Linked DNA regions of Homo sapiens: region 2 is linked to region 1. The links are contacts of gene promoters, found by promoter capture Hi-C in blood cells and fetal thymus (Javierre and others, 2016). All regions are on one chromosome and are shown on one strand. Each heading gives the region's core, a stretch centred on a gene start or on the middle of the fragment in contact. The rest is flanking DNA. Distances are from core to core; before and after follow the strand shown.

Region 1 (6,583 bases), core at 1,727-4,226:
ACCAGAGCAGGGTGGGTGCTTTGGAAATTGCCCATGCTTTTTGAAGACCACACAGGCTTTCAAGTGACCCTGCCCGTGCACAGCCTCTCTTCTGGACCCCAAATGCCTCTTCCCTCTTTCTCTGCCTCATCCTTTGAGCTTCAGCCCGAGTCCTATTCCTTGAAATGAGTCACTCACTCTTTTCCATAATAGTGCTATTGTGAGGGGTAGGCTGTGATTTAATCAATGTATGGGCACATGGTGAGGATTAGCTAAGGAAGCGTTGGCAAATATTACAGAATCGCGCTTCTGATGGTGACTGTCAACCTCAGGGTCGAGCCTGGGGTTGAGAACCAGGCTTCAGCCCTCAAGGAACTCACCATCTGAGCCGGGGTGATGAGACGGGGGATGCCACCTTTGGGACACTGGGGACAGGCTTGCCAGTGGGAGAGGAGGTGCTGCCTAAAGGTTTGCTGGCTCCAGTTGGTGGCTAGTGAATTATTCATTCATCAACCACTGCGCCGAGGTGACCCAGGGCTTTAAAATTCATGTGTTCATTGAGTCATTCTCTCGGCTCACATTCCCAGGCACCTTTTACTTGCTGAGCCCGGACTCTTTTCAGCACATAAGGCCCAGAGGAGAAGGAGGAGTTGTGCCTAGAGGATGGGCGGGCCACCAGGGGCCAGAGGGAAGCACTGTTTGAATTGGGGTGTTCACATATGTGCACGTGTGCATGTGTGTATGTGGGGGGGGGATGTGTGATGCATGTGTGTGCGTGTGCATGGGGGTGTGTGTTAGTGTGCACAGATGTGGTGGTGGGGGAAGCTGAGAGGCAGCAGCCTGATCCCCCAAGGCCCATAGCTGCTTTAGGGAACATGGGCTTGAGCCTTCCAGATCTAGCTGTGGCTGGTCCAGCCCAGGGCACTGTCTGGGGGAACACAGGACCTGGCCTCCACCAACGGGGCTGAGGGGAGGTGGGCCCTCTGGGCATTGCCTAGGTTTCAGCCTTGGGCTGGGGAAGAGGGTGGGGCTGCTCACAGCTTGCAGACAGACACGGTGCTCAAGGCGTGGCAGGTGTCAGCAGCACAGGGAGCTGGGGACCCTGAGTCAGTCCACACACGCACACATATGCACACACACGTGCACACCCGCGCACATACAGACAAGAGCAAGCTGGGTGATGGAAGTGGAGTGGTAATTCCTTCACCAGGCAGAATACGTGCAGAGACGTTCAGCCAGGAGACCATAACCTTTGGGGGACCTGCCGAAGGTCTCTGCCATGAGGCAAAGTGGTGAGATCCGAGGCTGGTCAGTTGATAGGGTGACTCCACAAGGACCAGCATGTGAGGTCAAGGCCTCACATTTTCTCCTGAAGGTGAAGGGACTCCGGAGGGTGTTAGGCAGGGCAGGACCTGTTCAGCCTCGCCTTTTAGAAAGCTCGCTCTGGCGGCTGGTATTGTGGGGTGAATGCCAGCCCCCAAAAGGTGTGTCCGTGTCCTAATCCCTGTTACTGTGACCTTATTTAGCAGAAGGGCCTTTGCAAGATGTAATGAAAATAAGGATGTCAAGATGAGCTCCTCCTGGATTATCTAGGTAGGCCCTAATCCAGTGACAGGTGTGCTTATAAGAGACAGACGAGAAGACAGGGAGAAGGCCATGTAGAGACGGAGGCACAGATTGGAGTGATGGGGCCACAAGCCCAGGAAGAACTCAGGCTGCAGAAGCTGGAAGAGCAAGGAAGAACTGATCCTCTGCCAGAGCCTTTGAGGGAGCAAAGCCCTAGTGTCACCTCCATTTCAGGTGTCTGGCCTCCAGAATTGAGAGAGGATATACTTCTGCTGTTTTTAGCAACCCAATTTGTGGTCATTTGTTACAGCAGCCCCAGGAAACTAACCCAGCTGGGATGGAGAGAGGACTTGGGGAGGCTGGTGGAGGCAGGAAGTGCTGAGGAAGGAGAATGAGGCCGGACTGGGTGTGTGGGGTGGGGGTAAGAGGTGGAGACTTCCACACCATCAGGAGATCAAGGCGCCTGGGCAGAAGGGTTTAGGGAGCAGTAGCTTTTTCCTCTCCATATTGCCAGCTGTCTGAAATTGTAGCAATGATCTGAATGTATCAGAATGACTCCAGTGACTGTCACTAACTTGGGAGTGAGTACCTTTGGGGTTCTATGTCCCTAAAGCCTGATGCACCATTTCCTGCTTGTGGAAGACGCGAATGAAAAATGAGATGGTAAATACCTGAGTTCGATATTCAGCATTCATTCAGCAAACATTTATTAGGCTCCTACTGTGCGTCGCGCTGGAAAGGCAAGCAGAAGCTAGATTCCCAATCGATCCCGGGAGGCTGGACGATCCAGACACAAACACCGTTCATGCGTCTATTCGAAAAGGCCCTCTTGGAATTTTGTGCACAGCATTTCCTTGGGGTGTCGATGGATCGGGGTCTGCAAACATTAGCACCTTTTCCGGTGGCCGCTGTCTTCTCAGACCTCAGACACCGGCGCCTCCCCGTGAACTCCCGCAGGCGTCCCTAGCCCAGGGCTTGGCGGGCGCTGCCGGTTGTACCTGGCCTAAGCCACGCTGGGCCGACAGCCCGGGGCGACACCCCCTTCGGACGGCGGGGATTTGCGGCTCGGGTGACCGGAGGTGCCCTCCCGCGGGTCTCGGAGCAGCTCCGCGGGCTCTCGCTCCGCGGGGAGGAGCCTGCGTCTCCCAGGGGCGGGGCTCGAGGCGCCTAGGGGCCGGTGGACACATACCAGCCGCCCCGTGGTGTCGGCCTCTGCGCCTGCGCCTGCGCCTGCGCGCGCGGCCAGGCAGCGTCTGTGGCGCAAGCGCGCGCTCACCCTTGGGCGAGGGCCCTGAGGGGCGGGGCGGGGCGGAGGAGCGGCGGGGCGGCGAGGGGCGGGGCGGGGCGGCGAGGGGCGGGGCGGGGCGGCGAGGGGCGGGGCGGGGCGGGGCCGGACGCGGCCGGGTGGGGCGGCAGCGCCCGCCGCGAGCACCTCCAGTTCTGCCGGCTTCTGCGCGCCGGGGCCGCCTCTCCTTCCGCCGGTGCCGCGGCGCCTCATGGAAGCCCCGGAGGGCGGCGGAGGGGGGCCTGCAGCGCGGGGCCCGGAGGGGCAGCCGGCGCCCGAAGCCAGGGTGCACTTCCGAGTGGCGAGGTTCATCATGGAGGCAGGTAACCGCGGCCGGGGGAGGCCAGGACAGGCGGCGCCGCGGCCCGCTTCGCGGAGCGGGCCCGGCTGGCCAGGCCGGCCTTCTGGAGTGCTCACCGTAGCAGAGGCCGGGAAGCCCTGCTCGGGGCTGAGGACCTCCGCCTTTGCGCCGCGCCCGGTGTGCTGAGCAGTGAGCCGCGAGGTATCCCCATGGCGTGGACCGGTGTGCAGGCCCTAGGAGAGGACGTGGCCGGGTTGGGCCTCCAGCGAGGCGGAGACCGGCCCGGGCGCCCGCAGCTCTGCGCAGTGCGCCACGCCTTCTGCCGGCACCCGCGGCCCTGCACTCCGGTAGACTTTATGGCGCTTAGTCGCGCGGAGCCTTTTGGAGAACGCTGTCCGAGGGTTCCTGTCACTCCGGGGACCTAGGCTGCTTGCAGCTCCTGTTCCGAACCCTGCCAGGACATCCACAGTAGTGTTGGGCTCCGCGCTTCCCAGGCGAGGTGATTAAGCTAAGATCTCTGTAGAAACATCGTTTCCATCCAGCCATCAACAGTATTTTTTTTTTTTTCGAGACGGAGTCTCGCTCTGTTGGCCAGGCTGGAGTGCAGTGGCGTGATCTCGGCTCACTGCAACCTCCGTCTCCCGGACTAAAGCAATTATCCTTCCTCACGCTTCCGAGTAGCTGGAATTACAGGTGTGTGCCACCGTACCCGGCTAATGTTTGTATTTTTAGTAGAGACGGGGTTTCACCATGTTGGCCAGGCTGGTCTTGAACTCCTGGCCTCAGGTGATCCAGTTGCCTCGCCCTCCCAAAGTGCTGGGATTACAGGCGTGAGCTACCTCGTCCGGCCCATCAACAGTATCTTGATAGGAGATACTGTTAGTTGGCGGGTAGTTATTTCCTACCTTTACTGCTTGGGGGAGAAGGGTTGGGCAGATGTGCTTTCTACCCAAGGTGGGCGGAGAGTCTGAGGACTGCTGCAGGACTGTTCATCCCAGTGATATGTAAATTTACTGTAATTTGCAAGAAGAGTTGCAAAGTTATTATTAGGGAAGGATGGCAGTGACACCTCATCTGCTACCGTCTGCTCGGAGGGTCCGTGTAAATTGGGGTTTGCTCTGTAAAACAAAGCTTGGAAGGTCATGTCAGTAACAGCACCTTATCTGGCATCTCCTGGAATGAGGGGTCCCAGGTAGGAATTGTCTTTATATAACAAGTTTAGACCTTCTGAGGGACTTCTTTATAAAATGTATTACACAATCCTTTGTCCTTTGTAGGAGGCTAAATATTGATTTCCCAAAGATGTCCCTATCCTAATCCCTGGAACCTGTGAATGTCATCTTATATAGCAAAAGAGATTTTGAAGATGTGATTAGAGACCTTAAGATGGGAGATCATCCTAGATTATCTGGGTGTAACCACACCCATCCTTATAAGGCAAAGGCAGGAGGAGTCACCGTCAGAGAAGGCCACGTGAGGACAGAAGCAGAGTTAGAAGCTTTGAAGATGGAGGAAGGGGCCAGCAACCAAGGAATGCAGCCCTCCTCTAGAAGCTGGAAAAGGCAAGGAAACATTCTCCCATGGAGCCTCCAGAAGGAGCCAGCCCTGCTTAGACGTTGATCTTAGCTTTCTAGGCTAGTTTTGGACTTCTGACTTCCAGGATCGGAGGAGTATAAATGTGTGTTGTTTAAGTGGCTGAATTTGTGGTGATTTGTTGCAGTAGCCCTAGGGAACTGATCTACCTTCTTAGGCAGAGGATGCTGACTGTCATTTCATGGTTGATTGTCGGTTGTTCTTCGCCTTTCTGTTTTGGCCTAGTGGATGTCATTTAACCTTGTCTTGTGAACCCTGGTGGTTGTGAATTTGTTTTGGTTCTGTGCACCAGGGCAGTGATTTTCTTAGGAGCCATTCAGGGATGGGCTGGGGATGGGCTTTAACCCCTAAGTAGAATCCACTGAATCCTGCTCTGGTGTTTTGAGTTTTGTTCACCTTAAAAATTTTTTTCTTTCTCTTTTTTGTAGAGACAGGGTCTCACTCTGTTGCCTAGGCTGGTCTCGAATTCCTGGGCTCAAGCAATCCTTCTGCCTCAGCCTCCCAAAGTGCTGGGATTACAGGCGTAAACCAGCATGCCCAGCCCACTTTTCAATGTGCTGGTGTCCTTCCCTGGTGCCTGGCTGTGGCCATAAACATTGCCTTTTCTCTGCAATGCAAGTGGTTACTCTTGGCAGTCACGCTGCTTGCTTTGCTCACCTCTTCTAACCTGTGGACTACGAAACCAGTGCTCAGTGTAATCTTTCACTGTGACTTCAGGACTTGTGGCACCCACGAGGCCGTTTCTTTTCTGTCGTCGTAGCTGTGGGGTGGGCGACTTCTAGCTAGCTGTTTGCTAAGGTGAACCCAGACACACAACAGCATATAGTCCTTTTCCAGGGTTTTGCAGAAGCTGCTATGCCAGTTGCTAACTGAGCGGTCCTCGGAACCCTTGTTTCCCAGAGCGTGGTCTATAGACCCCTGACATGGGCATGACCTGGGGCTTGTCAGAAGTGGAGAATCTCAGAGCCGCAGACCTACAAAAGGGGAAGTCTGCATTTGAACACCATCCCCAGGGGCTTGGGTCACCCACTAGAGTCTGAGAGCCCAGTAAGAGACCCAGCAGGAGCCACTGGCTCTGCTGGAAGTTCTTAGCCTTGTCCAAGTAGGGTTGTACCTGCTAGGGCCCATTCCAATGGCTCCCCTCACTGGAGCAGTGAGCCAGCGCTGGATTGAAGTCCTCTCTTGCCTGCTTTCTCTCCGCAGGTGTCAAGCTAGGGATGCGGTCCATTCCCATTGCCACTGCTTGCACCATTTACCATAAGTTCTTTTGCGAGACCAACCTGGACGCCTATGACCCTTACCTGATTGCCATGTCTTCAATTTACTTGGCCGGCAAAGTGGAAGAGCAGCACCTGCGGACTCGTGACATCATCAATGTGTCCAACAGGTAATGGCATTTGGCTGGGCTCCTGATCTCCACCCGGTGGGGGGGACGGGCAGGGAAGGCTCCTATGGGGCCCTGCCCACCAGGTGCCAGCAATGGAGCTTGGAAGGAAGTACCTGGATGGCCTTGAACCAGGCAGGGCCAGAAACAGTAGCAGCAAACGTGAGAAGGAGCCTGATGTCAGAGGCCAGTGGGGTCTGTGAGAGAAACGCTGGGCCAGATTATGGGGAGCCTCGAAAGCTGGATGGAGGGCAGAGGCGGGGCTTCAGCAGAGGGAGCTTGGAGAGGCATGTCAAAGAAGATTCTGTGGAAGTCTTAGACAGGGATGGCTGCAGGCAGAAGAGCTTGCCTGCAGCGGGAGGGTGCAGACCCAGCCAGGTGGTAGGTCCCAGTTGCTTAGGAGCCTCGCCCTGCTGTGGGTGTGGCGTGGGCATGGCACAGCCGGCCCAAGCAGGTGTGTTCCTGCTGGGGCAGA
Region 2 (6,583 bases), core at 1,190-3,689, 590 kb after region 1:
ATCAGAAATTACTTCACATTATAAGAGAGCTTTGCTGTGTAATAACAAGGTAGGAAATATACTTTTATGGATGGCTAATGGCAGTCATGAGGCAATATGTGGCTCTTTGCATGTTTGGATTAGAAAAGCATGCTCCTGGCCACCTGGAAGGTATGGAGATATTCCCCCACTGAGAGATAAGGGTCCCATGGGAGATGGGCTAATTCCCTCTTTTTGGGATCCAGGATCTGGTATAAAAATGGGACCTTAATTTTGGGGAATCTGTTTTTGCCTTTCAGCTGTGCCTGCTTAATAGGCCCTACAAACTGCATCTTTTAAAAGAAACTTAAGAAACTGGCAAATGAAAAATCTTAACAACTACTGGTTATTCTTCTGTCTGTGTATTTATATGTGTTGTGTGTGTGATGTTTATGAAAGAGCTTTGATTAATTGGCTTAAAAATAGTGCTTAAATATTTTATCAGAAAAATAAAAAGCATAATGCCTTTTAGTTCACATTACTTTAGTAATTTTGGGGAAATAAAAACAGTTTTACAAGCAAGGTGTGTAAGGAAAGTGAAATGTGTTTTTGGTAAAAGATTAAAAGAAGGCATGAGAATGTGGATTTTTTTTAGAAGGTTAAAGGATTGTTTTAAGTTAGGTAGGAAAAAGCTGAAGATTTGAGCAAGTTGTGGAAGGTTTGTGAAAAATTAATCTTGTAAAAGAAATTCTGTGTGTGAACATATTGGCTAACATTAAAGGGTATTCAGTTTTTCTGTAAATTGAACATTGGAATAAAAGCACAACAGGCTTTTCATAAAGCACTCATCTGCTCTTTAACAAAAATTTTTCAAGGGTTTATAAGAATCTTACTTTATGATGAGACTTTAAAATTGGATAGATTTGTGTATAAGGTTTTATTAAGAATTGGGTTTAACATCAATAGTGCATTAATGGAAAGGGTGAAATGTGGCTTTCTCTCTTGAACAGGATTTTCATGTTTTATTAAAAAATAATGAAAGATTTTTGTTTGCCTTTTAAATAAACTACAGGAAAAGAGGGGAAAGAAAAGAGACATTGTTTGGAAAGCTAGGTCTTCCCTCTTCATGAGTAAGGGGTTTTGCCTTTTAAAAATTTTTTAAGTTATTATTTTGGCAAAATGAATGACTTATGGTCACCTGGGATTCTATTTTGTGATATCTAGTGTTTTAAACCTTTGATATTTGACAAGCTTCCCAAAATCAAATTATAAAATATGTCTTTTTCTGACCTAATTAATCTTTTAGATATTAGGTCACCTAAAGTCCAAAAGTGACTTTTGGCTTATTTGGTATAAAAGTCATACAGGAAGCATTGTCAAATATGAAATGGTGTTTGGCCTTCTTTGGGCTGTGTTTGTATAAATATGTTATTGGCATGTATTCCAAAATTATGGAAGCTCCTATAATTCTGATATAACTTAGTGTGTGTTATCAATAGTTATAATTGCTATGTAAAATTGTTGTATACCACAGAGGTAATCAAAATTTTTTTGTCCATTGTGGCTTTAATAGTGGCTGTCCTAAAATTTTGTCATCCACAGACAATTGTTATCTTGTTTTAATACTCTTCAGAAGGTGGTTTTATAATCACCTATAGAACCCTAACAAGTGTTATTAAATGCAGGTTTTCTGATAACTTTGGAGAGTGTGACATTCAGATAGAGGAAAAACTTTCAGGACTCATGGACAGCTGAAATGTTCATGAATATCAAACAGGACAGGAGCTAACTGCATGTATTGCGCTAATAGAAGTTTGAAGTAATCTTGGCTGTTTGCTTAAAATGTTGCTGATCCTTTGTTTTGTTTTCCAGAGTCAAGGAAACTTTTGAGCTATTTAAAGCTTTTAACAATTAAGTAAAGTATACACCTATGAACACAATTTGGAGCATATGGGGAAACTGGTTATTTTACCAAGGCTTTGACGAGAATAGGGTGCTTTCCTTTAAGGAAAAAAACTTGACTTATAGAGCCAATAAAAGCCCCTTGGGAAAACTGGCCTCATAGGTTGTCTATACAGTCCCTGTACAGGGTTCCTGACCCGTGGTAAGTAAAGCATGTCACTTTCTCACAGGCCCAGGTGCCCCCAGTTATCTTAGGACCTCAAGAGAAGAGGAATTTACCCAACTCGTAAGTATTTGAGAGTATAAACCCACAGCTGGGCTTGGCTTTAAAAAAAAAAAAAGTCTTCAGGGCTCACGCCTATAATCCCAGCACTTTTGGAGGCAGAGGCGGAGGCGGGTAGATCACGGGGTCAGGAGTTCAAGACCTGCCTGGCCAAGATGGTGAAACCCCATCTCTACTAAAAATACAAAAAATTAGCTGGGTGTGGTGGCAGGCACCTGTAATCCCAGCTACTTGGGAGGCTGAGGCGGAGAATTGCTTGAACCCGGGAGGGGAGGTTGCAGTGAGCCAAGATCATGCCACTGCACTCCAGCCTGGGTGACAGAGCGAGACTCTGTCAAAAAAAAATGGAAAAAAAGTCTTATCTGAGATTCTTTCGATGGAACAGAGTTCCATCAAAGCTAATTTAAAAATAATTATTCTTGCTGCACTTTATATGAATGATCAGGCCAAGTATAAGAAAGTAAATTGGTCTTACCATGATTTGTTTTTAATAAAAATGGGAGACTGGAGATAGAAAAACTCTTTCGAACACTGTGGTACACATGTTAATAGATTCTAGTCTCATCAGTTGTTCTGGGACTTTTTTCTTCAATTTAGACTAACCCTGCTTATTCCTGTGAACAAACCAGTGACCTCTGACTGCTATTCAGAAGAAAGAAGAGGGATGGGTGATGTAAAAATCTGGATCTGTATTCTAATTCTGGGCACATATTGGGATGGGCTAGCAACCCCATATCAACTTGGTTCCAACAATTGTCCAGTTCATGGAAAGCCTTTTCTAATTTAATTTACTAGAGATAATTTTACTTATTTTGCTTTCCTGTTGTTGAATATATTGCTGTTATAGTCTTTGTGTAGGAATGCAGGACAAGCTTACTGAATGTTTCCCTAAACTGAACACTTATTAATCTTCCAGATATCACCTTTTGTTGAAACTCAAGAGTTATGAATGGCCTTCAACATACCGACACTTTCTAACCGAACTCCTCTCTACCCTGAATGCAAGAGACCCAGTAGTTAGGTAGGAATATCATCTCCCCTGTTCAGCATAAAGAAGTTACAGAAGATGGATTTTCATCCCTTTGCAACCCTTAGGATTAAGGGTTCTCTTGTAAAAGGGAGCAGGGAAATGTCAGAGGCATTTGAACCAAAACAACTCCATCTTGAATAGGGGCTGGGTAAAATGAGGCTGAGACCTACTGGGCTGCATTCCCAGATGGTTAAACATTCTAAGTCACAGGATGAGACAGGAGGTCAGCACAAGATACAGGTCATAAAGACCTTGCTGATAAAACAGGTTGCAGTAAAGAAGCTGGCCCAAACCCACCAAAAACAAGATGGTGATGAGAGTGACTTCTGGTCATTCTCACTGCTACACTCCTGCCAGCGCCATGACAGTTTACAAATGCCATGGTGATGTCAGGAAGTTACCCTATATGGTCTAAAAAGGGGAGGCATGAATAATTCACTCCTTGTTTAGCATATCATCAAGAAATAACCATAAAAATGAGCAACCAGCAGCCCTTGGGGCTGCTCTGTCTGTGGAGTAGCAATTCTTTTATTCTTTTACTTTTCTAATAAACTTGCCTTCATTTAAAAAGAAAAGAAGAAATTAAACCATTGGTTAATTATGGTGAAATCAATAGGCTCAGAACAGTTCATAACCTTAGAGTATAGAGCAAATCCCACACCCCTCCACAAAGGAGTTAGAAAGAAGCAGGGAACTGAAGATGTAGGGTCCAGGATTGCTCCGTTTGCTTGATAGGTCACTCAAGAGGGCCTTTCATTATATTCTATGGTAAAATTGGGAACAGCTGTAAAGTTAGTTACAGGCATGATTAAAGGATCAGTATGGTCATGAAACCAAAACAGTTTGGGATGACATACACGACAATCAGTTAAATTTACTGAAGAGGCCAGAGATTAGGAAAATCTAACCATAGAGTTATGTCTCTATGTGAAACAGAAATCATGTTTACTGGTTCCTAGAGGGGCAATTAGAATGATATAGCAAGTAACATATGCTATATGCCACACACTTTTAAACAACCAGATAGTGCAAAAATTCACTATCACAAGGACAGTTCCAAGGGCCATGAGGCTAAACCATTCATGAGAAAACCACCCTCATGATCCAATCACCTCCCACCAGGCCCCACCTCTGACACTGAGAATTACAATTCAACATGAGATTTGGGTGAGGACACAGATCCAAATCATATCAGCATTTAAAGATAGATCCAAAGATTGTACATACCTGACAGTGTCCAACTCTTTGATTTTTAAATCACTTATCTGTTTACCTTGTGGCTCAGAATATAGACAGGGTCTCCCATACAAGATTTCATAAGGGCTTAATTGAAGCCCGCTTCTAGGGGCCACTCTAATCCTAAGCAGTGCAACTGGCAATACCTTGTCCCATGTCCGATTTGTTTCCTGACGAATTTTTGCAACAGTGTTTTTTTTAGGGTGTGGTTCATCTTTTCAGTCTTTCCAATGGACTAGGGTTGCCAAGAGGCATGTAATTTAATTTCCAGCTGTTTGGACACCTCCTAGGTTATCTTGGCAATAAAGGCACTCCTATTATCGCTCTGGATGGTGAATTGCAACCCAAATCTGAGGATAATTTCCTCCATTAAGATTCTTACTATTTCTGAAGCCCTCTCAGTGTGGCAGGAAAAGCCTTCCACCTATCCAATAAATAAATAAATGTATTACTAACAACTATCTAAAATTCCCTTTGGCTCTTGGCATTACAGTAAAATCTGTTTGCCAATTTTCTCCTAGCCCATTGCCTCTTGCATGTATTCCCTTTGGTGTGGATGAACCCGATTTTGGATTATTCTTGGAACAGATTAAACATTTCTATATGACCTTCTATATAATCTTTTGCATATTAGGACCTATGATGCAATTCTGAATCCACCTAAGTGTGGCATCCCTTCCATAGTGGGTACTCAGATGAAGCAAACTAATTATTTTTTCCATTAAAATCTCAAGGATCAGAGCTGGACATGGTGGCTCACGCCTGTAATCCCAGCACTTTGGGAGGCCGAGGTGGGCAAATAGCTTGAGCCCAAGAAGTTTGAGACCAGCCTGGGCAAAATGGCAAAACCCTGTCTGTAAAAAAAATTTTTTTTTAAAACACAAAAGTTAGCTAGGCGTGGTGGTACATGCCTGTAGTTCCAGCTACTTGAGAAGCTGAGGTGGAAGGAACACCTGAGCCTGGGGAGGTTGAGGCTGCAGTGAGCTGTGATTGTGCCACTGAACTCCAGCCTGGGTGACAGAGTGAGACTCTGTCTCAAAAAAAAAGAAAAAAAATATCAGGGATCAGTACTGTTCCTTGCTGGCTTATAAACCAGGAGTTGGGTTTTAGGACCACTACACTGAAACCCTACCCTTGGGTTCCTCTTAAACCTTCCAGAGAATATGTTGGACAAAACAGGGTCAAGTCAATCTGTGAGACTAGGGCCATAATAGTGGAAGTTTTGGTCCAGGCTGCTAACTGGTCTGCTTTATTTGATTTCCATGAGATATTAAACAGTTTGATTTTTCGTGGCTCAGGCAATGTATGATTGCTGACAGAGCAGGAGCATCGCCATCTTGAACAAGCTCCTCATTCTAATGTTCACCTTAATAAAAAAGCTGCCTAAATCTAAAGGGCATCAGCCTAATGGCTAATGTCAGCATGACCATAAAACACAAATAACATCTCCAACAAGAAACATCCAAACTCCTCCTTGACCAGAGACATGCTAGCCCTGAGATAACCCCCCTCTGGGCCCCAGAAAGATGTCTGCCCCAAGATAACTTCCCCTCCTCCCAGAGGGATTCCAACCCTTCCATAAACTTCTCCACACACCTAAACATTCCAAGCTTCTGATAAGCCACCTCACCGTAAAACCAATATATACTCTTAGTCTGTAAGAGAAAGTGCTCTTGACCAAAATTGGCCAGGAGCACCTCTCAGGTTTTATCTAAAGAAAACCTGTCTTTAACTGTCAGCCACGTTTCATGTTTGTTTCCTCTTTCTTTAATTCTTACAATTGCCACTTCTTTAGGTTCTAACACCATTTTTAGTAATTTTAAAATTTCCTGCACATGTTTGAGTCCTTTTTTTCCCAATGTTAATAATAGCCCTCTTTCTTCCCAAATAGCCCCATGTGCATGCACCATAGAAGAGTTCTTTGAATCAGTGTAAATGTTTATCTTCTTAATTTTTCCTCAGTGAAGAGCACGGTTGAGGCATTCTGGGCTGACGTTACCTGGTGGCAGTGCTTCAGCTTCTTATAATATCTTGCAAAATTATCACTGCATATCCCACTTTCCAGTTTCCCTGGTCCATGAAGCTGCTTATATCCGTGGACATTTATAGATCTGTTTTTCCCAAGGGCACACCTGTTTGTCAGAGTGGCTGGAATAGACTTGTTCAATAATTTG

Evidence for each region. The method cuts DNA at HindIII sites, captures the fragments that hold promoters and counts their contacts. A CHiCAGO score of 5 or more calls a contact.
Region 2: a contact is called between a fragment that was not itself captured here and the fragment with the promoter of CCNQ in region 1, in 2 of 17 cell types (M2 macrophages and M1 macrophages). The highest score is 6.7, in M2 macrophages.

Annotation. Positions count from the first base shown.
Region 1 is chrX:153,595,532-153,602,114 of GRCh38, reverse strand. CCNQ (cyclin Q) reads left to right here and starts at 2,976. Exons shown (of 5, transcript NM_152274.5): 1 at 2,976-3,153; 2 at 5,928-6,111. The coding sequence starts at 3,042. It overlaps LOC105373383 (a long non-coding RNA gene), which reads right to left and starts at 2,775. Exons shown (of 1, transcript NR_131982.1): 1 at 2,222-2,775. RefSeq lists enhancers at 464-963, 964-1,465 and silencers at 2,606-2,745, 2,846-2,895, 2,906-3,265. The HindIII fragment of the contact is 8,000 bases long and covers 1-4,264 here.
Region 2 is chrX:153,007,362-153,013,944 of GRCh38, reverse strand. No RefSeq gene overlaps it. Among named protein-coding and RNA genes, the nearest start is that of PNMA5, 17 kb to the right of the region's middle. The HindIII fragment of the contact is 1,156 bases long and covers 1,862-3,017 here.